Regions from separate parts of the Homo sapiens genome. Here regions 2, 3, 4, 5, 6 and 7 are each linked to region 1. The links are contacts of gene promoters, found by promoter capture Hi-C in blood cells and fetal thymus (Javierre and others, 2016). All regions are on one chromosome and are shown on one strand. The core of a region is centred on a gene start or on the middle of the fragment in contact, and the rest is flanking DNA. Distances in the headings are between cores, read along the strand shown. Region 1 holds the start of PAXIP1-AS2 (PAXIP1 antisense RNA 2). Region 2 overlaps RBM33-DT (RBM33 divergent transcript). Region 3 has its middle 15 kb from the start of EN2. Region 4 overlaps CNPY1 (canopy FGF signaling regulator 1). Region 5 has its middle 2.8 kb from the start of CNPY1. Region 6 has its middle 29 kb from the start of CNPY1. Region 7 overlaps RBM33 (RNA binding motif protein 33).

Region 1 (3,350 bases), core at 1-2,500:
TTCTGTCTATATTATTCCTGCCTGGATGACATAGTGAGGTCTTCACTGCTGGAGAAGGGAGGGCTGGTGGGCCAGAGGGGAGACCCTGCAGAGGTGTGCAGTGTCCTTCTCTGCTGTTCATCTCAACCCGCTGTGTTAGGAAACCAGGAGGAAGCCCTACCTGGAATGAAACAGGTGCCTAGAATGAAGAGGGTAAGGACAAGGTTTAAGACTGTGACACCTGTTGCTTAAGAGACGCATTTAGGAGTGTGGCATGTAGATCCCAAATGTCCGTTTTGTAAAAGTTGTTGTTATTGTTTCACTTTTGTTGTTGTTGTTTGTTTGTTTTGAGATAGAGTCTCACTCTGTTGCCCAGGCTGGAGTGCAGTGGTGCAATCACAGCTCCCTGCAGCCTCAACCACCTGGCTCAAGCACTCCTCCCACCTCAGTCTCCCGAGTAGGCGGGGCCACATGTGTGCACTGCCATTCCTGGCTAAGTTTTCTTTTAATTCTTTGTAGAGACAGGGTTTCCCTATGTTGCCCAGGCTGGTCTTGAACTCCTGGCTTCAAGCAATCCTCACACTTCAGCCTCCTAAAGTGCTGGGATTACAGGCGTAAGCCACCACGCCCAGCCTGTTGTTATTGCTTTGAAGGAGTTCAGGAAATGCCACCCCCATGGCACTTGGGAGTGCTGATCCCTGTGAGCTGAGGGCACTTGGGAATCAGCGGATGCAGGCAGAGGTTTCCTCTGAGCTCCCCTTACCTGCCTGAAGACGGATCCTCCAAAAGGAACTCAGCTGTCATGAATCGCCTCCCCAGGAATCTCGTCAATCTGGGAGGATTAACACAGATCACAGGAGAGGACACTGGAGGTGACATCAGCCCAGATGACTATCACCCGTTCTCCCGAAGGCGGCTCTGAGATGTTTACGACCTCAGAGACATTTCATCCACAGAGCAGCACAACCTTTACTCACCAGACAGTCCCTCCCCAGGCTCTCCCATCACTTGTGTTCTCACCTCCCCTGGAAGCCCCGGGAACTTCGAAGTAGGCTTCTGTGGACTCCTGCCACTTCATCAGTAGCTGGGGCCCTGGTACCAGCACAAACTGCTTGCATCCAACTGACTTCACCAGACATACGGGCGTCTTTGGTAAGACCGCTCTCAGGTTTTGAATCTCCCAGGTTTGGGCTGAGATTCAGATTTTATTTAAGTAAATGAATTTCATGCTCAGTGGGACTGATATTGAAGCCGCCATTTAGGGCTTTAAGGCAGGAGTTTCGCGTCATTTCTCTAAAGATTCTGCTATTGGCAGGTTTGTGGTTTCACTTTTCTATTAGGTTAAGTTTTCGTTCGTCTTACTTGCTCTTTTGTAACCTTTTCTCTCATTGGACATTTTACTTGCTCAAGTTTGTAACCTTTTCTCTCATTGGACATTTTTTTACTTGCTCAAGTTTGTAACCTTTTCTCTCATTTGACATTTGGTTAAAGAGAAAGCAGTTTTCTTTGTAAAAGGAGAAAGTGAATGTTTGTGGCTTAAGCCAAATTTGTGGCTTTAAACCAGCCAGGCTTTGGATCTTGGTTAACATTGAGATTTAAAGTTTCTTCCTGAGTCACCCAAAATTTGTAAAAGGTTGGAATGAGGACGTGATAAGCTGAAGACAAAAAGGACTCTTTCTCCCAGCTGAAAGGCACCTTAGGCAATGGAGGTAACACAAGGGTGTGGAAGCTCACAACAAACCCCAGAGAAGAACTCACAGGGAGAGCTGCTTAACCCCCGGGGCACACAACACACAAGGGGTTCGTCACCCAGTGCCTTGAACTCCCAGAAATGTCTGGGTTTCTCTGAGGTAGGTAAGAGGGAAGAAGCTACTTGTAGGTGATACCTCCAGGAATAATCCCTACTAAGCAGCACACTGGACCCCAAACACTTTTCCCTTTTAGCCTTTGGGCATTTTAAAAGAGAATCCAAATTATGAGCAATTATCCATCTATAACCAAGCCCTCATTAAGCAATGCACCTTTGGAAACTCCAGCGGGGTTTATGTACAAGACTTATGGCGCCACCTCCTGTCGATAGTTGGAGAAATGGTCTTATTTGACCTAAGAAGATCCTAAATTACAATGATCAAAGAGAATTATCTTTGAAATAGCTAGATTAGTTTATTTATATGCACAATTTTAAAAAGCCAGCTATGGAATCAAATAAAATAATTAAGAGAGTTACTTCCAATGGCACCCAGAAGCATCCAAAAGAGGTTTTGACAGAATTCTTCCCTTAGAGGAAGAAAATAAAAAGCACTCTAAAACCATTACTGAATTTTAAAAAACACTGAAATGTCTTCTTCTCTCCCTGCTCCCCTGTCTCTCTAAGCCTCCTTGTCAGAACTACCCAGCCCTGATTGACCTTCTCCTCCTCCTCCTCCTGCCCCTCCTCCTGCTCCCACTGGTTTGGCTCCATTTCATCCAGCATCTGGTAGAGGGGAACCTGCTTTATCAATCATGATCAAACTTACAGGCATAGTTAAAAGAATTCCTTGATCTTCACCAGGTTCCTATTGGTTTTGCTAGGAAATTTGAATTAAATATCCAAGCTTATGACCCTAGTTATTCTGACTTCTAGCAACAGATTCACATGTTAGTAGCAAAAATTAAAGCTAAAGGCTGGCTAGACAAAGCTCACTGGAGAAATCTGTTAGGGATCTTCATAAATGTTCAGAAGAGGACCATAGACAGGCTTGAAGAACAGCAAAGGCTTTGCATCAGGCTATCTCCTCAGTTTTTCAGAGTAGTCAACTGGAACAAAATACAATATCAACAAAATTCAGATGAGTCAGTAATATACTTTGAGGGCTGTGGAAAAAATTTTAAAGAATATTTAGTTTTATCCGAAGAAAGCTGTGCTAATCATCGAAATGATACTCGACTCCAGTTTAACAAATGAGTTAGATGAATTGGAACTAACAATGAAAAGACAAAGTTGGGCCACTTCTGATACTCATGATTTGGTCAGTCTCATTGACCGGTTATCTGATACCTTAACTGAAGAAGAAAGAGAGAGGGAAGCCAAACAAAAGAGCGAGGCTAATACAATTATGAATTTACAATTAAAACAACTATTCACACAATTTTGGCCTTCACAATACCCCTAGAAACTCCCTAATGGACCTAACCTTCCACTTTGCAATTTTTGCAAAAAGCATGATTACTTTCAAAAGAGTTGCCAAAAATGAAAAAGGAAAGAATGTTAACCAGTGGAGGCAGAAAAGAAAACAGGGGTGCTCCAAGGAACTTAAAGGGGCCTTTCATTTCCTCCTTACTAACACTGGGAGAAATAAAAATTATTATAAATGGAGAACTAACACAAGCAC
Region 2 (3,319 bases), core at 628-3,127, 710 kb before region 1:
TTGATCAAACACCCACTGGAAAAATTTTTTAGCGTGGACACCCAGTATTTGAAGTTCTTGGTAAATTACTGTGAGTAAAGATTTAACCAACCCCTTGTCCTTATCTATGAACAAACTTCACTTTGTGTTAACTTTAACTTGTCATAGAAACCTTATGAAGGCAGAGTGTTCATTGTGGTATAAAACAACATTGGTTGTAGGCCAGGCGCGGTGGCTCACGCCTGTAATCCCAACACTTTGGGAGGCCAAGACAGGTGGATCACCTGAGGTCAGGAGTTCAAGACCAGCCTGGCCCACATGGCAAAACCCCATCCCTACTAAAAATACAAAAATTAGCTGGGTGTGGTGGCACATGCATGTAATCCCAGCTACCTGGGAGGCTGAGGCACAAGAATCACTTGAACTCAGGAGGTGGAGGTTGCAGTGAGCCGAGATCACACCACTACACTCCAGCCTAGGTGACAAGAGTGAAACTCCATCTCCAAATAAATAAATAAAACATTGCTCATGGTAAAAATGACCTCTGACATGTAGACTGCCTCTGGCTTGAAAGTACTGAATAATCTTAAAACACCTAGTGGGAAGCCATACCTTTAGCCTCTGTTACTGTCTTAACTGAATGTGGGAATCTAAAAGACAAACTCAGGGAACTGGTTTCCCGCCGGTCAAGGACTTCCAAGCCAAGCCCCCACCCATAATGGTTTGCTCCTGAATTGCATTTGGGCCAAAGAGTAGAGCTCTTCCATGCCTGTACCGCAGTGAAGTGTGTTTCTTCTCCTCAGTCCTCCAAAGTGGAGCTGCTGCCAGGCGTGGCATTATATGAGTGTCAGGGGTTAAACCTAAGAAGACTACCTAGTGAGCGCTGCAGTTTCATACATATCCTACTGAAAATCTTAAAAGCAAGCTTTGCTTTTTTGTAAATAAAGCGAATATAGAAGTCTTTCTCGTCTCAGTAATGATGAACTGGAAATTCTGTTCCCCTCCTCCAACAAAACAGATTCTGTGGAAAACATTTTTTGTTGTATTGCTAGGTTTTAGGAATAATGTTTCCAAAGGATCAAGAAGGAAGCAAAACGCTGGGCACAGTGGCTCACACCTGTAATCCCAATGCATTGGGAGGCTAAGCAGGTGGTTATCACTTGAGCCAAGGATTTCAAGAGCAGCATGGGCAACATGGCAAAACCCCATTTCTACAAAAAATAAAAATAAAAATAGCCAAGCATGGTGGTGCATACCTTTAACTGCTTTGCATAACTACTCTGGAGGCTGAGGCGGAAGGATCATCTGAGTCCAGGAGTTCGAGGTTATAATGAGCTGTAATAGCACCACTGCACTCCAGTCTGGGTGACCAAACAGAACCCCATCTCTTAAGCAAAACAAACAAACAAAAAAAAAACAGATCCAAAGCCTGAGCAGTTAGTAGTGTACAGGAAGTTCAGGGTTTCACTGGGGAAGTCATCCCCATTTGCACTGCTAATAGGAAGCAAATTCTTGGACAGCTTTTGAGGAGGGAATCTAAACCCCAGGCTCCCAAATTAGGCCAGAGATCCTGGAAGGGCTTTCTCAAATTATCCCCTTATATTCTTCACAGTTTAAGGTCAACCAACTATGGACTTAAAATCAAAGATCACAAAATGCACGAGGGAAGAAACCACTGTAAGTGAAAAATACAAACTAGATTGACCTCCTAGGGACTTTAGTTATTAAAATTACCATAAAGGACAATATTTGAAAGGTTTAAGGAAATAAAGGATGAAAAAAATCAAGAAGAGACTGTCTAGAGTAGCCAGAGAGTGCTTCCTTTTTGTTGTATCTGAACAATGTCCTAAAGCCATTAGGCAGCACTAGTGGTATAGCAGGGCTGGGAGAGGTGGGGAGGGATGTGCTGGCCAGGCTAGAGGATCGGAGCCCAAGCATGTGTTCCAGCTCATACCCTGTGAGAGGGCTGCCCAGCAAGGCATGTGAGAGCACCACAGGTTTCAAAGTATGTCCTGTGGATTGGCAAAGTGAGGAGGGCATCCACCCATGGGGGCAGTTCAACATGGGGAGTCACACATGACCGGGTTACTAGGACATGATCCTGAGGGATGGGCCCAAGGTGGAATTCAGGGCCCTACTGGGATGAGGTGGGAGTTGCCAAAGATAAGTAGACTAGAACGGCAGAACACAAGCATCGTGAGAGTTTTCACACAGGTGGGAGGCAGAGCACAGGGAATCAGAACTCCAGTTATAAGGGGACCTACACAGAAGAAGGTGACAACAGAGATGGCATGTTGGTTATGAACAGGGAAATTGATCAGATATATAAATATATGAAGGGTGATGGAGCTAAGTTTCACACTGTGCAAATAGGGAGTTACTTATATGAAGAAAAAGCTAAAATTAACCCTATGGTGTGTCACTAGAATAAAGAATCAGAGTGATTGCACTAATGGTTTTTGATAATTGTATTTCATTGTAGGAATAAATGTATATGCAAATATGTGTATGCCTGTTTTTGTATAACTGTGTGTGTGTGTATGTGTGTGTGTTTCCTAACTGTCCACCAAGAGTGCCCTGGAGACAGCAGCCCATCTTGAGCACACCCAGCACCTAGACCTTGGTTTCTAAATACCACTTTTCAAAAGGAACCAGTATTACTTGGAAAAACAACTGATTTCAGAACTGGGGCATGGAATTCGCAAGATCAGCCTGGAACATCTTGTTCCCTCCAAAAATCAAGGAAGTGCTTGAATAGTGATAAAGATATGTCAAAATGACACAGAAGTGAGATTTAATGGGCCAAAGCAGAGATGAGATGAGCATCAAATTAAATAATGAGAGCAATAGACTAAAAACAGGAAAGCTTGTGTCTATACAAATATTGATAAATAATAAATTGAACTTTATATGGAAACAGTATATCAAAATAGTTAAGGTGTTCCTTCCTAGAAAATATATATTAATTACATAGTAGAAAAGAATAATTTTCAGTGGAAAAGCCTCTAAAACCACCCTAACTGATCAAAGTAAACATTTTCAATAATGGGATAAATAAAAGTTGCCACCTGATATAATACAATAAGAAGAGTACAGCATCACTTCTGTGATCATCCTGTCAAAGATACCTAACCAAATCTAATTCTGAAGAAAAAAGGACAAACTCAAATTGAGAGACATTCCAGAAAATAATTGGCATGTAATCTTCAAAGATCTAATTACGAAAGTCAAGGAAACACTAAGAAAACATTTCAGACTGAAGAAGAAAAAGACATCACAACTAAATGCAATAAATGATCTTTTCACTCTTATTGGGACAATTTGCAAAAATTGATAGGGT
Region 3 (3,494 bases), core at 223-2,722, 540 kb before region 1:
GGTGGCAGGCTGCGTGGTGTCTCCCTCTGGCCTGCTGGTTCCAGAGCCCTGAGGGTGGCATCAGGCTGCTGCAGAGCCTCAGATCTCCAGGAGAGAGGAGGAGGGAGCCGGGACTTACAGGGAACTGAAACAACCAAAGGATAGCACATACGAGTTCATTATTTGCTATGTCTGCAGTTGGAAAATCACAGCCAGCCCTGGCAGACACTTACTGAGTGCTCACTGTACACCAGGCGGGATCCCAGTGCCCATGGGCACTCTCTCATGTGATTGTCACTGCAGGCTTTCAAGTTAATTCTATTATCTGCAGGTTTCAGATGAGGAAACCAAGGCCCAGAGAGGAAAAGGCACAGCAGGCATGACACCAGTGCCATCGGTGTTTGCTTCACCCTTGCAGATTACGAGGCAAGTTCACATGCATGTCGTCGGTGCTGGGGGACAGCGTCTCCCTGGGGACACACACATGCAGTCTGGCCAGGCCTAAACCAAGTCAGGATTATGTTGCTGGTGATGTAAACCAGCCAAGGTCGCGGAGAGCAATGCCACACAGCAAATAAGAGCTCACACAGCCCCACACACCCTGGCCAGCCCGGATAGCTTCCCTTCCCTGACCTCAGTCCTCTCCCCCGTAAAACGGTGTTAAGACCAGTAGCCACCTGGTGGGGTGCATTATGAGAGTGACTGAAGATAACCCACATACAATGGTGAGTATTGGCTGTCCTGGGTAGAACAGTGTACTCCCACATTAATGTCCTGGGAATATGTGAACGGAACCTTATTTGGAAATAGGGCCATACAGATGTGATCAGAGGAGGTCACACAGAATTAAGGGGGGCCCAAATCTAATGTAACTGGTGTCCTTATAAGCAAAGGGAAATTTGGGTACAGACACAGGGCAGAAGGCCGTGTGACAGCAAAGACAGAGATTGGAGTGAGGGGTTGCCAGCCTTCACAAAAAGCCAGGAAGAGGCGAGAAGGGTCTCCCCTGCAGCCTTCAGAGAGAGCCCAGCTGACACCTTGATTTTGGCCTTCTAGCCTCCAGGACTCGGAGAATAGACTTCTGTCGTGTGAACCTCTCAGTGTGTGCTACTGTTACGGCCGCCCTCAGAAACTCCTACACTGAGACCTAGTAGGAACTCAATCAACATTGGGTGTTATTATTATTTGAGACAGGAAGAGACATTACACCAATGCCTGGGAAATGTGACTTCCAGAACACGAACTGCAACGGAAGTGCTAGAGTGTGCACTAAGCTGGCTACAGCTAAAGGGCAGAACACTGAAGGGATTAGGAGAAACACGAATATGGGAGACACTTCCCTTCTAGGGTCTTTGTCCAGCTTTTCTTCCCGGGAATTTGGAAACTCACCGTTTATCAATTGTGTGCTTACAGTAGTGACAGTGTGTCTGCTTCCCACACAGACAAAAATATGGCAGGGATGGACATTCCCGAGTCCTGGAAACCAGGGACAGTCAGGGGTGGGTGGATTCCTCCCAACCTTCCAAGCTCTCTGTGGGGGAGGGGGATACTGCTGCCAGCTGCCCCTCCCCTCGGGCTGCCAGTTGCCTGGCCTGCCTGGGGGACTGTGTGTGCGCGCATAGCCTCCTGCACCCGCCCCCCCTGCTGAGGCCAGGGAGCCGGAAGGGCACAGACAGGCTTTGGAATGCAGGGCTGTGCAGCACACTTTAGTGGGAGTCAGGTTTTCTGCCTGAGGCAGAGGGAATTCTAACACACGCTAGAGCAGAAAGACAGAAATTGCCTTTTAGACGCGGCTGCCATCAGCAATATTTAGCAGGCAGGCTCTGCAGGGCCGTTTAACCTTCTGTAACCTTACAGTTAAGTGCTGGCTCGCTGGCTGGCTCGCTCTCTCTCTCTCTCTCTCTCTCTCTCTCTCTCTCTCTCACACACACACACACACACACACACATTCCTCTGTGCAGATATATCCGTGGTTCTGCTTAATATTTTACCACAGTGGTTTTATTTCAAGGGGAGCTCTACAGGCTGACATTTCTTCTTCTATGTGTGCCCAATATTTTACATGTACACACACGCAGAAACTTGCATATTCATATCTTCCAGGAATCGACACTTAAAGAGGGAGGAACCTGAGAGCTTCTTGCTCATCAGAGCAATGCCAAATGTACAGTTGGAGCTTGGCAAATAATTAATAGTAATGAAAATTGACATTGCAAAAATTAAAGTGAGAGGGCTGACAGAAAGGAATTGGTTTGGTTGTCAAACCACAAGCCTAAAGGGAAACAGATTGCTTTGGAGAATCTTTTAATTAATTTTTGAGTTTCCCTGTTTCTTCTCTGCTGCGTGAGCAGAGTTCCTTCCTCGGCCATCAGGATGCTCTACAGAAGGGGACAGGTCGGAGAAGGATGGATGGTGTTAGGGATGCTCCCATCTTGGAAGCCTCTGGAATTCCCCAGTCCCCAGTAAGGAGAGCTCAAGGTGGGGGTGACACAGCCCAAAGAGGGGTTCGTTTTGTAAATTTACTTTTATTACCGATGAATAAACCAAGAGGTCTAGCTCATTCATAGCTAAAATAAAAATGGATCTCTACAGTCTGACCAAGTTCAGCCACTGAGCTGCAGCATTAACTTGTATTCTAACAAGATTAAAATATATTTGTCCTGGGGATTAGCATACTTAAGTCCCCTTTTGCCTTTTTAGCGGTGGCAGGGCACTTTGATCTGCCTTGCGTGGCAAGAGCGCGGCTTGGGCCCAGCGATCCGACTGCCGAGTGTGAAATCAGCCTGATGTCATCCCATTCTTCAGCTTTTACATCTTTCCCCAGTTTAATTATATTTCCGCCACAAAGCTCCCGCGTCTCATTGCATATTCAAGTTTGACTAGGAAGCATTTAAAAAACAGTGTGGATGAAATACCCTTGTGGGGGGAAGGGATGGGGTGGGTTGGCTGGGGGGGGCTGCAAATCTTCATGGAGCGAAAGCAGCGAGCCCCAACACCCGCATCACCCCATGGATGGCCTCACCTGCGTGGAAATGTGTCCAACTTCCGCCTGCCCCACCCGCTAGGCGCCCAGCTCCCCCCGACGGCGCCAGGCACAAAGGCCATTGTCACGCCGGGCGTTTAGGTATGGGGGCTGTTTTGCCTTGTGACTCCAGCGGGTTTGTATGACATTCTTCCTCTGACGTGCTGTTTTTGTTTCCTTGGGGCTCTGAATCCACAGGGCGCGTTCCCGTCTCTACATATAAAAGATGTTTTTCTCTCTGCGAGTGATGAGTCACTGGTGGAATCGCCTACTCTGAGGCAGTATGCAGTCACTAAAATAAATTCTAAGGCTCACTGAGTTCCCAGGGGCAATGGGCCCGGCTGGTCTTTGATCACCTTTAAAAGAATCAGAACATTTAACTCTCCATCCAGACCTGATGTTCTGGCCTTCATTCAGAAAGGAAGGCCCGTCATGGCAATAGGCCTAGAGTGGCCCCGGAGTAGCACCTGCTAAAGCTACCTCACCTGAGGGG
Region 4 (3,834 bases), core at 1,267-3,766, 570 kb before region 1:
TAAATCCTAAAGCCAAAAAAGACTGGAATATGGGCAAGAACAGCAGTGTTGATCTTTGTTGAAGCTGGGTTTGGGGTGCAGGGGAATAGATTACACCCTTCTTTCTGCTTTTGGGTAATTTCTATAATAACATTTTGGGAAAATTTCCATAATAAAAGTTTTTAAAATATGCTTCTACCAGAACATAGTTTTTGCATAATGTAAATGACTTAACGGGCTGGAGTCTAAAGTGATAATGATGCTATCTACTTTTTTTTTTTTTTCCAGATCTGTGTGAAACTTCTGCTAATCATACTGAGCTCTAGGAGTGCCGTTCTGCTGGTCGTAGAGAGGAGTAAAGTCACACCCAAAGGTCAATGTCTGCATTTTATGTTTGCATGTTGTCTTTCATGATAAGAAAAATTTTGTCTCTTGTTTATACCGTGTTTGTCTCCGTTTATGATTCATTTTGAAAATCTGTTGGTTGACATCATGACAAACCCTGCGTTTTTTTATAGGTGAAGCTGAGGAGTACATGAAACTTAAATTAACCTTTGCAGATTTTGATAAATCAAGCTTGACAATAGAGGATTTAATTCTGTATTGAGGAAAAAAGCGAAGACATTTCATAAACAAAATAGGGATTTCATAATGTATGCTGCTTATTTTATAACAGTGTATGTGCACATATGCAAGCGCAGTGGCTGTCTGATAAGAACTGGATTTGAATCCTCAAATACTTGATTGCCTATAAATTTAAGGAAATACATGGCAACAAATTCAAAATGTGGCCTTCTGGGTGAGATATGGCTATTAGTGAAAGAAACCCACTTTTTATCAGGAATGAAATTAAAATTTTTAGAAACCACAAGTTTAAAAACCCATCTCTAAAATTTAGTGGAATGTGTAAAAACTAATGAATGCTTTAATTTATAGTAAACAATAATTATATTGGCCTCTCAAACACCATTCTGAGTTTAAGTGGCTTAGAAAGTTGATTTATTATTGCATCAGGTGTTAAAAGATGACACTAGTGATTGCGTTTTGTTTCGCTCCAAACTCTTCTGGCTTGTTTGTTTTTCTTCTAAACGTTTTTTTTTTGGCTCACATTTAGTGTGTTGAGTTTACTACTAAATAATCTACCATTCTTCTACAGGAATGGAAAAAGAGTTGGGACCTGGTGGGAAATTATCTTTTGGCCACACTTAATATACAAAGTCTAGTAACAATCACTCCCGGAAATTTCTTTATCTCTGTTACATTTGCATTCAATGGAATCTGACTTTAATGATTAAAAATGTCAGGGTATGGTCTACACCAGTTTCTAAAAAGAGATTCTCATTGTCTTTGGTGACAATCAAGTGGGTAGGATGCTACAAATCCCCCCCCCAACCCCCCCGACCCAAAACTCTTTGCCATATTGTTACTTAGTTGCTTAAAAAGCACATTATGTGTTTAAATCATTCTCCTGACTCTTCAGCAGGAAACAATTCTTAAATTTAGGAAAATTTACCAAAGCTAAGGGGAAGGGCTTTCCATGCCCCCTCCCCACCTAAACTCTGATTAAAAGTTAGTGAGTTAATGTCACTTAATTACTTGGGTGCTTCTTTTTTGTCTTGTCTGTGGCTGCTTAAGTCTGATGGCTCCTACATAACCCAGCGAACTCGCACCCGAGCTGACACACGATGGAAATAGAACTGAATAATAATTAACACTATTTTCCAGTAGGGTAGGACAATTGTTATTTAAAACATAGTCCCTATAGCTTTATTTAAACGTATCTAGTTAAGGTTAATTTGGCATTTAAAGTAGTAAATCAGGAACATTCTCCTAACTTGGATTTTCTTGGGAAATGCACTAAACAGGACAATTATTCCTGAAAACCTAGTGACCTTCACAGGAACATGGCGGGACCTGTGACACTAAGTAAGCTTCAGTGAAAACTGTTCACGGTCGTAACCGTAGAAGTGTTGCCAAATCTGTTTCCATACTCTCTTTGATCATCATCAAACATTCTCAAATGTAGGCAATGCTAACACTAATTATAGAAATTAAGAAAATGTGGGCTCCTGTTTGTAACTAAACGGACGTGGGGAGGTGCACCTCCTGTCACTGAGGGGTGCCTTTCATGGACAGTGATGCTTTGCTTTGAATGGAGAGGGCGAGGAACCTTGACTTACAGTGACTATCTAAGGTTGTGATAAATATGGCATTTCAGGTTTTTTTCTTGGATTTCCCATTAAAAATAGTCTTGTATCTTGCAAATTTTTAATATCTCATGACTTGTGTATTTTTTCTTTCCAGAATTTTTTCCAGATCAAACTTGCCAAACTCATGTAAATATTCGTAGCTTACAAAGTTACTGATTCAACCTGTATTTGAGTGATAACACCTAAACCACTGGATTTCTTCTGGCTTCAGGAAGTCTTAGGTTTCCCTGTGGGCCACTGTTAGGTTGTGCTGCTTTTGCTAATGAACAATGAGATAGAGTAGCTACTCACTTTAGCATCCTCCTAGCCACCTTGGTGCCTTGTAAGTCACATTTATTGACCAAAACCAAAATAAAACAAGTCATGGGGAGGAAACAAAAACAAAAACAAAATAAAAGAAACAAGGCAACATTATAGGGTGAGAGAACGTTTCTCAGAGTTGATGAAAAGCTGCCTAATTCTATGTCCAAAAAAAAATCCCTGGAAAAACACGGGGTGGGGTGTGTAATGCTTATTAAAATAATGAGGAGAGAAGACTTGTTTGAGGCTGCATGGTTTCAAATTGTTCTTTTATGAGATGGTTGGTTTGGGTCTCCATGAAGACACGTGAACCTGTTCTCATAAAAAAAAAAAAAAAAAAAAAAAAAAAGACCAAATTGGCTGAGATGGCCAGTTTATTTTTTGTGATGTGGATTACTATTTGCTAAGAACAAGCCAAGGACAATGAATCCATTTTACTGAGGAGTGGAGAGCGGGATTGTGCTGAAGTCCCAAACGGGAAAGATCAATACTTTATTTACTAAGACAACCCTAAAAAAATAGAGTCGATAGCTGGCTGTGCTTTTATATCTGTTTCTTGGCTTAGGTTGATATTTATTCACATACGTAATCACTATATCTAAATAAAAATGATAAACTATATATCAAGCTTAAAATTCAGATTGTCATGGAATATGAGAAAAGTCATTCTTAGATGTGATTTTGTGGTCTGTTTTAAAACTTGGTACAAATTTGTGAGCTAATGTTAAATGTGCTGAAGCTCACGCAAGAGGATATTGTATAGTTTGATACCAAGATGCAATTAACAATGATACTAAACCATCACAATATGAATGCACCTGTGACATACAAGTGTGTTATTATGATTCCCTAGCTATAATTTAATTCCCCTTTATACATTTCTTAAATTCCTCAGATTAGTTGCTTTTAGAGCAAGAAACCAAGTGGATAAAAAGATCAAATACAATAAATGAAATAGAATTATGGAAGTTGTAAAACTGTACTGCCCTTAAATGACCTAGGGAAAGATAACAGTAACTGATACTGCTCTCACGCAAAGTTTAACTTCTTGCCCCTTCCCCTAAATGTATGTTTGCTGAGGAGAGAGGCTCTGCTCTTTGTAGTCCACTTTTCACGATCTGCCCCAACGGCAGGAGGTGCTGATGATATTTAATATAATATTGGCTCATTCACTTGTGGGGCCATCACCAGAAACATGGGGCTTTGCTTCAGAAGGACAGTTTGTGGAAGAGGAGTCTTACATGTCACATACAGCTCTCTACCCTTCTGGGTTCTTCAGGAAAGTCCAAAATTAGATGGATGGATAAATAGATAAACAGATAGATAGAAACTTGGAAATGTAGAT
Region 5 (3,654 bases), core at 402-2,901, 620 kb before region 1:
CCTGGTCGATGCTGTGAGTCCATCATGGGCCCTGATATCCTGTGGGCAGTGGGAGATGCTCCTGAGTTAGCCAGGCCTGGGGCGCCCAGGAGGCCGTGCACAGCAACATCCAGCTCACCCCGGCCTCTGCACAGGCGCAGCTCGTCATTGGGTTTCAGCCTCTTCTCATGGCCTCCTCGTAGCACAGAGTGGGGCCCGCCACACTTTGGGATGTCTAGAGACCAGGCTTAAAGAAAGACTGTGGCATCAGCCATTTCCACTTTGGGGAGCAGGAGTGTTGGTTGGGGGGAGCCACCCCTCCGTCACGTTTGCCTTGCTGGCCTCCTGCAGCCTTGGGAGTCGGGGCTTCATCTTCCCTCAAAGGAGTGTGGGGGGCACAGCCATGCAGGAGATGCAATGTGAGTGGTGGGAGTTGCATGGGCACTAATCACTACCATCGTAATACCAGGGCTCCTGCCTTGCTTATAGAAACTGCTAGAAAATGGTTTGTTCTAGAATTGAGCCATGTTCTCTGAGGTACCAGAGAAAGTGGCCCCTGCACCCCTCTTTACTGGTCAGCAGCACCTGCTCCGGAGAGGTGCAGGGTGCAGGAGAGCTGCCACTAGCCAGTGCACCTTGGGACAGGTAGGGCCCCCATTGCAGAGCACAATGACCTCCTGCATGTCAAAGACATTTGCAGATCTCAGGCCCAACCCAGACCCGACTCAGAGTCTCCCAGGCTGGGACCTGGGTCTGTACTTCTAGCAACTCCCCACGTGGTTCTGATGTCACCTCTGCTTGTGGCCTAAAGGCCACTGGAGGAAAATCCACATTGCCTGCAGCTTTGGATGGCTTGGTTCCCATAGCCGCTCCTGCTGGTGGGGAGAGTGGCCCAGACACCCCTGGAGGAATGGAGGCACGGCATCCACCACATGCGAGCTCCTTGGAGGGCACGGGCTGGGACTCAGACCTCGGTGGCTTCCTTGGGCCTTGCTCATAACCTTGAAAATGGCAAATGCTCAGATATTCATTGATCCCTTCACCTCTAGGGAGATGCAGCCTCCTGTGGGCATGTGCAGAGTGTGGGCAGGAGGGTTGTGGTGGCGGGGCCCTGATTTGTAGCATCTGCCTATGCCTGTTGTGTAAATACTCCCACCCCTGTTGATCCGGGCTACCTGTGTGATGTCACTAGCTGTGGAGTTGGGAAGCAGCACACATGCCATCTGCTCTTGCAAGCCCCTTGAGATGGTTCCGGCACCTGAGCCACCGGAGGCTCATCTGAATCTGTCGTGACATCTACCTCCATCTCTTTCCCATTTCCAAATCTTCCTCTAAGAGAGAAAGGGAGGGAGAGGGAAGGAGACAGCCATAGTGGCAGGGGCTGGTAGGCCCAGCGGGAGGGGGCTTGCCCTCTGGCAGGCAGTGTGACCCACCAATCCCCCCATGAGGCCCCACTCCCGCCGCCTGCTCTAATAAACTCTAAACTCCTGTGATTTAAGTGAAGGTTTCAGATTAACATTTAAATTAATGCCGGACTAGAAATCTGGAGCCCAGGTCGCTGATGTGACTGTTAACTTGTTCTGTGACCTGGGGCGGAAATTTAAAATGATCTTTTCTTGTGGAGCGGCCCCTCCGAGGGGAGGTCAGGGATGGCAGGCCTGGGGGCCTCCTGTCCTGTTGGAAGCCCAGCACCTTTCCTTGCTGACGGGGCCACCCTGACCTCAAGAAGCCCTGCATGGCCACGGGGGGCGGGGTGCTGTGCCCTGGTCCTGCTACTGCCATCCCGATGCTCAGGGCATTTGGGGATGCTCGATGACAGGTGTGCACTACAAGGGGCTCTGCCTTTTCACGGCCTATCTTGGTGCTTGTGAAATGTGGGCCTGAAATGAAGGCAGCAGAACATTAAAATATTGACCCAGAGAGCCCTGTGAGCTGAGCCCACTCACCGGCCCCTTTCCACTTCTGCCGGCAAGTCCAGCCTTGAGGGATCCAGGGAGCCAAGGACACCCACAGTGACCACAGCACAGGGAGCGTCCGGGCTCAGGGTGGGGCGGCTGGGCAGGAGTCTGGGCACGGGTCTGCAGGCACAGAAAGCAGAGAGATGCCGAGGAGAGACGGGGTCCCAAGCTAGTCACTGAGCCCAAGTCAGGGATTCCAAGCAGTCAGTGGGGCCAGGAAGGGGACAGCAGGCAGGCCACGCCTGGCAGGCACTTACAGACTCATGCAACACCCTCCCTACGATGGGAGAGACTCTGGGTAGAGCCGGGTGACGCTCATCCATGGCCCAGCAGGGTTTGACGCTGGCACTTGACGGCAAGGCCACATTCTTTCTGTTGGCCAGCACTGTCCTCTGCCAGCCAGGAGGTGAGGACGCACCATCTCCAGCTCCTGGGTCCACCAGGAAGGGCTGGAGGAGGCTGTCAGGGCAGAGGCCACCTGGGCCCCTGGAGATGCTGGGCTGGGCCCACCCCGGTTCTCGGGGAACCTTCACACCCGGCTGGCGGCCATCCTCTCGGGCTATGCATTTCTCCTCTGAAGTTGGCCTGGAGGCCAGAGGCCACCCCTCCTTTGTGCTGATTGCTTTGGCCTCTGCTTCCAAGACACCATTTCCCACCATCTGCCCTCTCTCAGGAGCCAGGGTAAAGGACATCAGACAATCCCATCCCTCTTCCTCCTAATCTCGTGTGGGAGCTGGGCTCCTGCTGTCCTCAGGGGTCCCAGGCGGCCCCATTCTCAGCAGTAACATGGTCACCGCCGGCTCTTCCTAGAGGACTCCTCATCTGAGCCTACTGGGCTGTTCACCACCTGTGGGCCCGGGATTCTGGGCCCACGCTCCCCTGGCAGCCCTGGCCCTGCGCTGACCGAGATCCCCCACTGGGGAGCACTGACCATGGAGGGTCCTTTCTTATTCCATCCCAGAGGTGGAAGGTGAGTGAGTGTAGTGAACTCAAAATAGCAATGGCTTAGACAATCTGGATGCTTGTCTCCCTCTCGTAAGGGTGGAGGGTGCTGTCCCGGTCAGCACAGAGTTCTCCCCTTGCAGGCCCCAGGACCCGCCTTTGAGTTCCTCACCCTGACATCTCCCAGGCCACCCTGGTCCTGGGGCCTGAGCTGAGCTCCGACCTATAGTGGGTCAGAGAGGGCAGAGGGCGAGCACTGGCTCTTTAGGAAGATTCCAGAACACATGGTTGTAGAACCAAGTTACAGGCCCTGGCCTAGCTTCAAGGGAGCCAGAAAGGAAGTGTTTGTTCTTGGAGCTGTAAGTCCTGCTCCTAGAGAAGAGGGGCTTGCCTGTGGTCAGTAGCTTTGAGCCCCTGTGCACTGCGTCAAGTCCAAACAGTAAGTGCTGATGTGGACACCCGAGACACAGGTTTTCATGCCTCTGCCATGAAAACTTCCTTCTCCTCCTGGAAGCCTCAGAGAGACAGGCTACTCTGTCAGAGACCTCCAGGCCCCAGAGGAGCCCAGTACATCGTTAGATGTACTGCTCACTAACAGGTAATCATAGTGATCAATGATCTCATACATGGATTGAAGGTCACTGACCCCTAAGAGCAGGGTAGGGAGGGAGCGCGGGCTGTGTGCCTCTGAGGACTGAGTGCCATCTGTGTCCTCAAACAGTGGCTCGGCTGCTGATTTCTGTAGTACCTTGGGTAAGGGAGACACCTGGGAAAG
Region 6 (3,804 bases), core at 19-2,518, 650 kb before region 1:
AGGCCACCCACAGTGCCACATGGTGTGGCGTGGATGCACCTGTCATTCTGAGGACCCCGCCCCTCCTCAGCCCTGCACAGCCTCGTCATGCTGCCCCAAGCAGAGGAAGCAGCGGCCAGAGTCCCGAAGGAGCCGTCCAGGGGCTTCAGTGGATGCTGGGATGGGGTCTGTCTGGTGCTGGGATGGGGTCTGTCTGGGAAGTACAGAGGTTCCCCTGGCCTTCCTGTGGTGTTTCAGCCTGGACCTGCCCAGGGGGCTGAAGCTTGGAATGGCCACCAGGGTAGGTGCTCCACAGCGCTGGGCAGGACTGAGCCTGTCTCTGGGGGAGGACCACAGACAATCAGAGGACAGCGCAGGCCTAAAAGTCTGGGCCAGCAGATGGGGAAGAGTCAGTGACACCAATGCCACACCCAAGGTGACACCAGTGCCTCCAGGTAGCGTCAACCGTGTGACTCACTTGACACAGGCCATGGACTTGGAGTGCCCGCCCAGGGTGACCCCGGTGAATGGCGGAGTTTTGTAGAATGCAAGCCCAGCCCAGCAGTCCACGCCTTCTTGCTAAGCTGCTCTGTACACCGAATGAGTGGGCTGGAGTCGCTCAGCTCCTTCCGCATTTAGTCCTCTCTGATTTCCTTTGGCCACAGAATAAAACAATCTGCCAAAGTGTTTTTCTTCTATTTTTTTCTGTTTTGTGCAACAGAAAAGCCCAGAGGAGAAATGAGGATGCAAAGAGAAAGAAAAAAACCCCAACCAGAGAGCTGCAAGGATATCAGGAAGAGGGAGCGTCCGGGGACGGAGCAGAGCGCGCTTTTCCGAACGCCTTACTCCGGGCTGGGGCTGCTTTCTGCAAGCCCGTGCGGTGCACGTGAGGAGGCTTTCCTTGCGGTGGTGAAATCAAACACACCTAAGGCGTGAGTCCTCCAGACTTTCCTCACCTGGGCAGCTTGGCCCCGGCCACCTGTGCCTCGCCCGGAGAAACTCCAAGTAAGTGTTCCTGACTTCAAGGGTCGGAGGTCTGTTTGCTCAGGGCTGGTTGGTAAAATCGAACGGAGAATGAAAGCTAGAGCTTCTGAAGCACATGAAGCAGGAGGGAAGCTTTAGACTCCCCACTCGAAGGAGAGGGCTCCCCTGTCCGCGGGAAGAAAGTCTTTTTTCTTAAGCTCTGTCAGTAGCTCAAAATCAGGCCACGTTTTAGTCGGCTTCACGTTTGCACCACGGCTTTCATCTACAACTGTTTGTTTTTCCTAGAGTTAAAAATACCTTTCTTTTTATTTTATATTTGTTTGTAAATAGGAAATATACTCAAAAAAAGGTACAAAATGTCTATAGCAAAAATTCATTTCCCTTTTTTTGTTTCCGTTTTGAAACTGCCACCCAGTTAGCATCCCCACAGGTTTCACCCACTTACGCCTAGTGTTCCATTAGTGGAACACTAAGCTTGTGGGACTTACTTATAGCCTACTGCTCAAGGTCATTGCCAAGGTCTGATTTTTCACAAAAAAATATTTGCGACCTCTGGCATAAATGGGTTAAGGGTAGGGTCCCAACAAGACGGCCCTTGCTTCAGATGCCACCCCCAAGTGAGGTCCCCAGGCGACCTGCACCTCTGACCAACTTGCTACAAATCCAGGGGCTCCCCTGATGACCTCAGGTTTTATAATTTACTGGAACACTCCCAGAGCCTTCGAAAGTGTTGCACTTGAATCTCGCTTTGTTGCCCAGGCTGGAATGCAGTGGCACGATCTTGGCTCACTGCAACCTCTGCCTCCTGGGTTCAAGCGATTCTCCCACCTCAGCCTCTTGAGGAGCTGCGATTACAGGCCCCCGCCATCATGCCCAGCTAATTTTTGTATTTTTATGGAGACGGGGTTTCACTATGTTGGCCAGGCTGGTCTTGAACTCCTGACCTCAGGTGATCCACCCGCCTTGGCCTCTGAAAGTGCTGGGATTACAGGCATGAGCCACTGTGCCTGGCCACGATCCCATTTTCATAATAAAGAACACACATCAGGCCAGCCAAATGAAGAGACACATGGGGTGAGGGCTGGTTGGGTCCTGAATGCAGAGCTTCCATGTCCTGCCCTGTGGATCAGCACACATCACCTTCCAGGCACATCTGGACCCTCCACGGAGCCTCAGCATCAGAGCTTTTATTGGCATCTCGTTCCATAAATACGACTGGTTGAGTGATCAGCCAAGCTGGGGAAAACTCAGTCTCTGCCTCCTCCATTGCCTCCCAGAGGTCAGCAGGTTGGGCCGATAGCCCTGGGCCCAAAGTCCTAGCCCTCTAATCATATGATTGGGTTTGCTAGTGACCACCTCCCATCCTGCAGGTATCCAGGGACCATGCTGGCTCACCTCATTAGTATAAGCTACCAGGGCCCACTGTGAGTAATGTGAATAATGAAGACAGTTTAACCACTTGGGAAGTTCCCAGGACTTAGAGTGCTGGGACAAAGGCCAGATTTTGTATTATCCAAGGGCCCTCAGCCACTCAGTTTTTCTGCCCAGAGGAGACTGATCTTGGTATCCTTCCAGAAAGATTTTATTTTACTCAAAGAGTAGCATATTACATTACAGATGCTCCTTAACTTAGGATGACATCACATCCCAATAAGCCCGTCATAAGTTGGAAGTATTTTAAGTCAAAATGCATCTAATACACCCAACCAAGGGAACATCGCAGCTTAGCCTCGCCTATCTTAACCCTGCTCAGAACACTCACATCAGCCCACAGCTGGCAACATCGCTGGGCAGCGCAGCCCACTGCAGAGGGCAGGTTGCTCACCCTCGTGGTCTCAGGGCTGACTGGGGGCTGCGGCTGCCCCTGCCCAGGTTTGAGAGAGTTCGTGATGCATATACTAGCCTGGGAAAGATCAAATCTCAAAATTTGAAGTATGGTTTCTATAGACTGCATGTCGCTTTCACACCCTCATAAAGTCAAAAAATTACAAGTCAAACCATCACAAGTCAAGGACCTGCTATATACACACTGTTTGGATTCTTTTTTTTTTAAACTTAAAAATACGTTTTGGAGATTATCCTATAGCATTCCATAAAGAAATTTCCCGGCTGGGCGCGGTGGCTCACGCCTGTAATCCCAGCACTTTGGGAGGCTGAGGTGGGTGGATCACGAGGTCAGGAGATCGAGACCATCCTGGCTAACACGGTGAAACCCTGTCTCTACTAAAAATACAAAGAAAAATTAGCCGGGCAAGGTGGCAGGCGCCTGTAGTCCCAGCTACTTGGGAGGCTGAGGCAGGAGGATGGCGTGAACCCGGGAGGTGGAGCTTGCAGTGAGTTGAGATTGCGCCACTGCACTCCAGCCTGGGCGACAGAGCGAGACTCCGTCTCAAAAAAAAAAAAAAAAAAAAAAGGAAATTTCCCTTTCTTTTCCCTGATGCAGTAGTTCATTGCCCCACACTTTAACACGTTTCCTCCTGAAGGCAGATTGTTTTTTATCTCTGGCTGTTTCAAACAATGCTGCAATGAATAACTTCAGACATGAACCACTGTATACCTGTGCGAGTGTATGCGTAGGGTGAATTCCCGCAAGAGCGTGCGAGTGTATGCGTGGGGTGAATTCCCGCAGGAGCGTGCGAGTGTATGCGTGGGGTGAATTCCCGCAGGAGCGTGCGAGTGTATGCGTGGGGTGAATTCCCGCAGGAGCGTGCGAGTGTATGCGTGGGGTGAATTCCCGCAGGAGCGTGCGAGTGTATGCGTGGGGTGAATTCCCGCAGGAGCGTGTGAGTGTATGCGTGGGGTGAATTCCCGCAGGAGCGTGCGAGTGTATGCGTGGGGTGA
Region 7 (3,345 bases), core at 25-2,524, 730 kb before region 1:
TTGAACCCCGCGGAGGTTGCAGTGGGCCAGAGGTTGCAGTGGGCCAAGATCACGCCACTGCACTCCAGCCTGGGCGACAGAGAGACACTCCGTCTCAAAAAAAAAAAAAAAAAAAAATCCAACTATATGCTGCCTATTAGAGACTCACTTTAGACCCAAAGACACTAATAAATTGAAAGTGAAAGGATGGAAAAAGATATTTCACGCAAATAGTAACCAAAAGGCAGCTGGCAAAGTTACACTAATATCAGATAAAATATTTTTAAATCCAAAATTGTTTCAAAAAGAAGGAATACTGTATACCGATCAAAGGGTCAATTCATCAAGATATAACAATTATAAACATATATGCACTGAAACAGAACACCAAAATTGATGTAGCAAATGTTGACAAAAATGAAGGGAGAAAGAGACTGATCTACATTAATACTTAGAGAATTCAACACCCCACTTTCAACAAATATGAAATCCAGGTAAAAGATTAATAAGGATATAGAGGACTCAAATACTATAAATCAACTAGACCTAACAGCCAATACAGGGTACTTGGACCAACAAGTGCAAAATATACATTATTTTTAAATGTAGAGGATGCACTGTCCCTGATACACGTTAGGCCAAAAAATAGTTCTTAATGAATTTTAAAACATCAAAAGTCATGCTTCATGAAAACAAGGAGCATTCCCTATCTATGAAAACAGAAGCAAAATCCCAATATTTTATAAGCTAAAAATTTAGCTTGTGACTTTTTTCTCATTAAGACACAGCGAAGAAATTAGTACTTAATCACAATCATCCATGGCAGACATTGCTAATTAATTAGAGCATCCACTGGGTGCAGTGGCTGGAGCCTGTTGCCCTAGCTACTTGGGAGCCTGAGAAGCGAGGATTGCTTGAGGTCAGAAATTTGAAGCTGTAGTGTGCCATGCTCATGCCTGTGCATGGCCACTGCACTCCAGCCTGGACAAAACAGTGAGACCAAAATAAGAAAAAACGAAAAAAAAGAGCATCTAATTCTGCTGAAACCAGAACATCTTTTTGCCAGGCTAGCTAATAACAAGTATTATAACCTTGTTAACAAGCATATAATCCTTGGCCTCCTCACTGATTTTTGATTCAGTGGGCTCTTTTTGCTTTTTAAAGTTCCCACTAATTCTGATGGACAGCTAGGGTTAGGAATCCCTGTGTTCATCTCACACTGTGCATCAGCGCGGGCACTCCGGAAGGAAATTTAACTGCCATCGTGCTACGTAGCACTTTCCGGAAATTTCAGAGTTAAATCTACAAAAGCCAAAATTAGAGGCCAGGATCATCAAAAATAATTAAAGTATTTTCCCAAAGGAGAGACGCCATAAAATACTAAGGAAAGTGGCTGTTGAAATCATTCCAAAATCAGAGAATGCAAGATAAGCAAAAAATATGAATACAAATGAAGAGTCATGAAACCTGTATCCTTCACTCGACAACTATTTCTTGACCACATAATATATGCCAGGCACTGTTCTAGACAACTGACATACAAGACAAAAAAAAAAAAACCTTCACCCTGTGTAGGTTACATTCTAGTAAGAAAAGACAAACAGTAATCCCAATAAACTAATATATGGTATGTAACTTAAGGCCTTTATTGGAAAAGACTAGAGCAGGAGGGTAAAGAAGACAGGAAATGAGGTAAGGGTCAGCTGGTACAAACTGGGCTGACTATAATTTTAAAAAGAATAGTCAAACTTAAGAAACAAATCAGTATTACATGTTAATGCAACATATTTTAATGACAAAAAGTCTATAAAACAAATATTTTTTAGTTTTCCAAAACTCTTTAATGTCTGACTTTGTAGAAAACAGCTGAATTCTTCTATCTGCTTCTGCATTCAATCTCTTGTGAGATATATACATACACATATTTTTTTTTTCCTGAGATGGAGTCTCACTCGATATGTTTTTTGACTGAAACACATGAAAGAAATCTGACTCCAAATAAATACGTAGTTGTAAAAAGAAGTACTTTGTCTTTTCAAACAATTTTAGATATTCTTCGATACTACACTAATAATCAAAAAGTGGCCACTTCTTAAAGACTGGCTGCAATGCAGAATCTGAAGCCACAGCAATTAATATTTCATACCTGTTATGTTAAAGTCCAAGCGTGTCTTGTACTGTTATTGGATCTTTAACCATGATTTTGTGCCACCATGCAGTGGTCATTTTGAAAATATTGGTGCCCTGATTTATGTAGTACTCCAAATGCTAACACATTTCATTATCCAATATACAAAATCACACTGGTTAACAACATCACCAATCTCACCAGGAAAGTCCTCAAGTGCTGGGAAGTTTTCAAGCTCACAATATCAAATATAAGTATTTCAAAATTCTCATTTTTGTTTGAAAACTTACATATTATCATTGGCAACAAATAATGTCCACTGTTTTACTTGAAGTGACAGGCTCACTTCATTTTCAAGAATGTATCCGCCAAGCACTAAAATCTGAATAACCACAGTCTGTCAATTGTCCTTTCAAGTAAAAATGATGTTCTACAGAAGAAATAAGAAAAGCTAGCTCAGCTCACAATTAAATTGAACAAGTACCTTTTTTTATTTTTATTTTTTAAGAGACGGGGTCTTGCAATGTTACCCAGACTGGACTGAACTCTTGGGTTCAAGTGAGCTTCCCGCCTCAGCCTCCAAGTAGCTGAGAACACAGGTGCACACTACCATGCCAGCTGGACAGGTACTTTTCCTGAAGACAACTGTTATACTTCAGTACGAAACAGAAGTCCTTTATGCATATGCTCCCTACTTGTCACAAAGATTTTTTAAATGCACTTTAGGATCAAGATTTAATAAAATAAATAATTGTCACTGCCTTAATTCATGTTAAAACACCAGAGAATGTACCCACCATTACTTTTGCAACATTGATGCAAATGTCAGCACAGTAAAAAAAAAAAAAAAAAAAAAAAAAGGCAAACAGCCTTAATACCGTTATGAAAATAGTCTGACTTCACAGACACTCTGACATAGTCTCGGGGACTCCCAAGATTTTGATAAATACTGTTCATCATTTAGTGAACAAAGGTAATATGTACAAGGATGTTCATCAAGAAGTGTTTTATTAATAGGAAAAAGTAGAAATAAACCAAATGCCCAACAAAAAAAAGCCAGAGCAGAGAGGTCAAATAAAAGTACAGTCATGTAGTTACATATTAGGCAGCAATAAGAATTTTAAAGTCAAACTGTTTCCTGACATGAAAAAATATCCCCAATAATATAATGGGGGGGAATTCTCCAATATCATACAATATGGTATGGCCACTGTGTATGTAAAACATACGTGTACACG

Evidence for each region. Contacts are between HindIII fragments. The CHiCAGO score rates a contact against its expected background, and 5 or more counts as called.
Region 2: a contact is called between a fragment that was not itself captured here and the fragment with the promoter of PAXIP1-AS2 in region 1, in 9 of 17 cell types (fetal thymus, total CD4 T cells, activated CD4 T cells and 6 more). The highest score is 14.5, in fetal thymus.
Region 3: a contact is called between a fragment that was not itself captured here and the fragment with the promoter of PAXIP1-AS2 in region 1, in 2 of 17 cell types (total B cells and fetal thymus). The highest score is 5.6, in total B cells.
Region 4: a contact is called between a fragment that was not itself captured here and the fragment with the promoter of PAXIP1-AS2 in region 1, in 3 of 17 cell types (total B cells, naive B cells and fetal thymus). The highest score is 7.2, in total B cells.
Region 5: a fragment that was not itself captured here is called in contact with the fragment with the promoter of PAXIP1-AS2 in region 1 in 1 of 17 cell types (total B cells); the score reaches 5.4 in total B cells.
Region 6: a contact is called between a fragment that was not itself captured here and the fragment with the promoter of PAXIP1-AS2 in region 1, in 1 of 17 cell types (M0 macrophages). The highest score is 5.1, in M0 macrophages.
Region 7: a contact is called between a fragment that was not itself captured here and the fragment with the promoter of PAXIP1-AS2 in region 1, in 2 of 17 cell types (fetal thymus and naive CD8 T cells). The highest score is 6.1, in fetal thymus.

Annotation. Positions count from the first base shown.
Region 1 is chr7:154,926,417-154,929,766 of GRCh38, reverse strand. PAXIP1-AS2 (PAXIP1 antisense RNA 2) reads right to left here and starts at 1,250. Exons shown (of 8, transcript NR_024476.1): 1 at 1,000-1,250; 2 at 743-811. RefSeq lists enhancers at 620-839, 990-1,089, 1,110-1,169. The HindIII fragment of the contact is 7,419 bases long and covers 1-2,575 here.
Region 2 is chr7:155,639,537-155,642,855 of GRCh38, reverse strand. It overlaps RBM33-DT (RBM33 divergent transcript), which reads left to right. Exons shown (of 3, transcript NR_126344.1): 3 at 1-940. Among named protein-coding and RNA genes, the nearest start is that of RBM33-DT, 3.2 kb to the left of the region's middle. The HindIII fragment of the contact is 1,941 bases long and covers 907-2,847 here.
Region 3 is chr7:155,471,117-155,474,610 of GRCh38, reverse strand. No RefSeq gene overlaps it. Among named protein-coding and RNA genes, the nearest start is that of EN2, 15 kb to the right of the region's middle. RefSeq lists enhancers at 1,497-3,259, 2,453-3,494. The HindIII fragment of the contact is 7,565 bases long and covers 1-3,494 here.
Region 4 is chr7:155,499,539-155,503,372 of GRCh38, reverse strand. CNPY1 (canopy FGF signaling regulator 1) reads left to right here. Exons shown (of 5, transcript NM_001393663.1): 5 at 268-2,244. The coding sequence ends at 305. Among named protein-coding and RNA genes, the nearest start is that of EN2, 43 kb to the right of the region's middle. The HindIII fragment of the contact is 1,207 bases long and covers 1,913-3,119 here.
Region 5 is chr7:155,547,493-155,551,146 of GRCh38, reverse strand. No RefSeq gene overlaps it. Among named protein-coding and RNA genes, the nearest start is that of CNPY1, 2.8 kb to the right of the region's middle. RefSeq lists an enhancer at 2,472-2,973. The HindIII fragment of the contact is 4,683 bases long and covers 1-3,654 here.
Region 6 is chr7:155,573,730-155,577,533 of GRCh38, reverse strand. No RefSeq gene overlaps it. Among named protein-coding and RNA genes, the nearest start is that of CNPY1, 29 kb to the right of the region's middle. The HindIII fragment of the contact is 342 bases long and covers 1,098-1,439 here.
Region 7 is chr7:155,655,157-155,658,501 of GRCh38, reverse strand. All of the region lies in intron 1 of RBM33 (RNA binding motif protein 33), which reads right to left. Among named protein-coding and RNA genes, the nearest start is that of RBM33, 12 kb to the right of the region's middle. The HindIII fragment of the contact is 9,727 bases long and covers 1-3,345 here.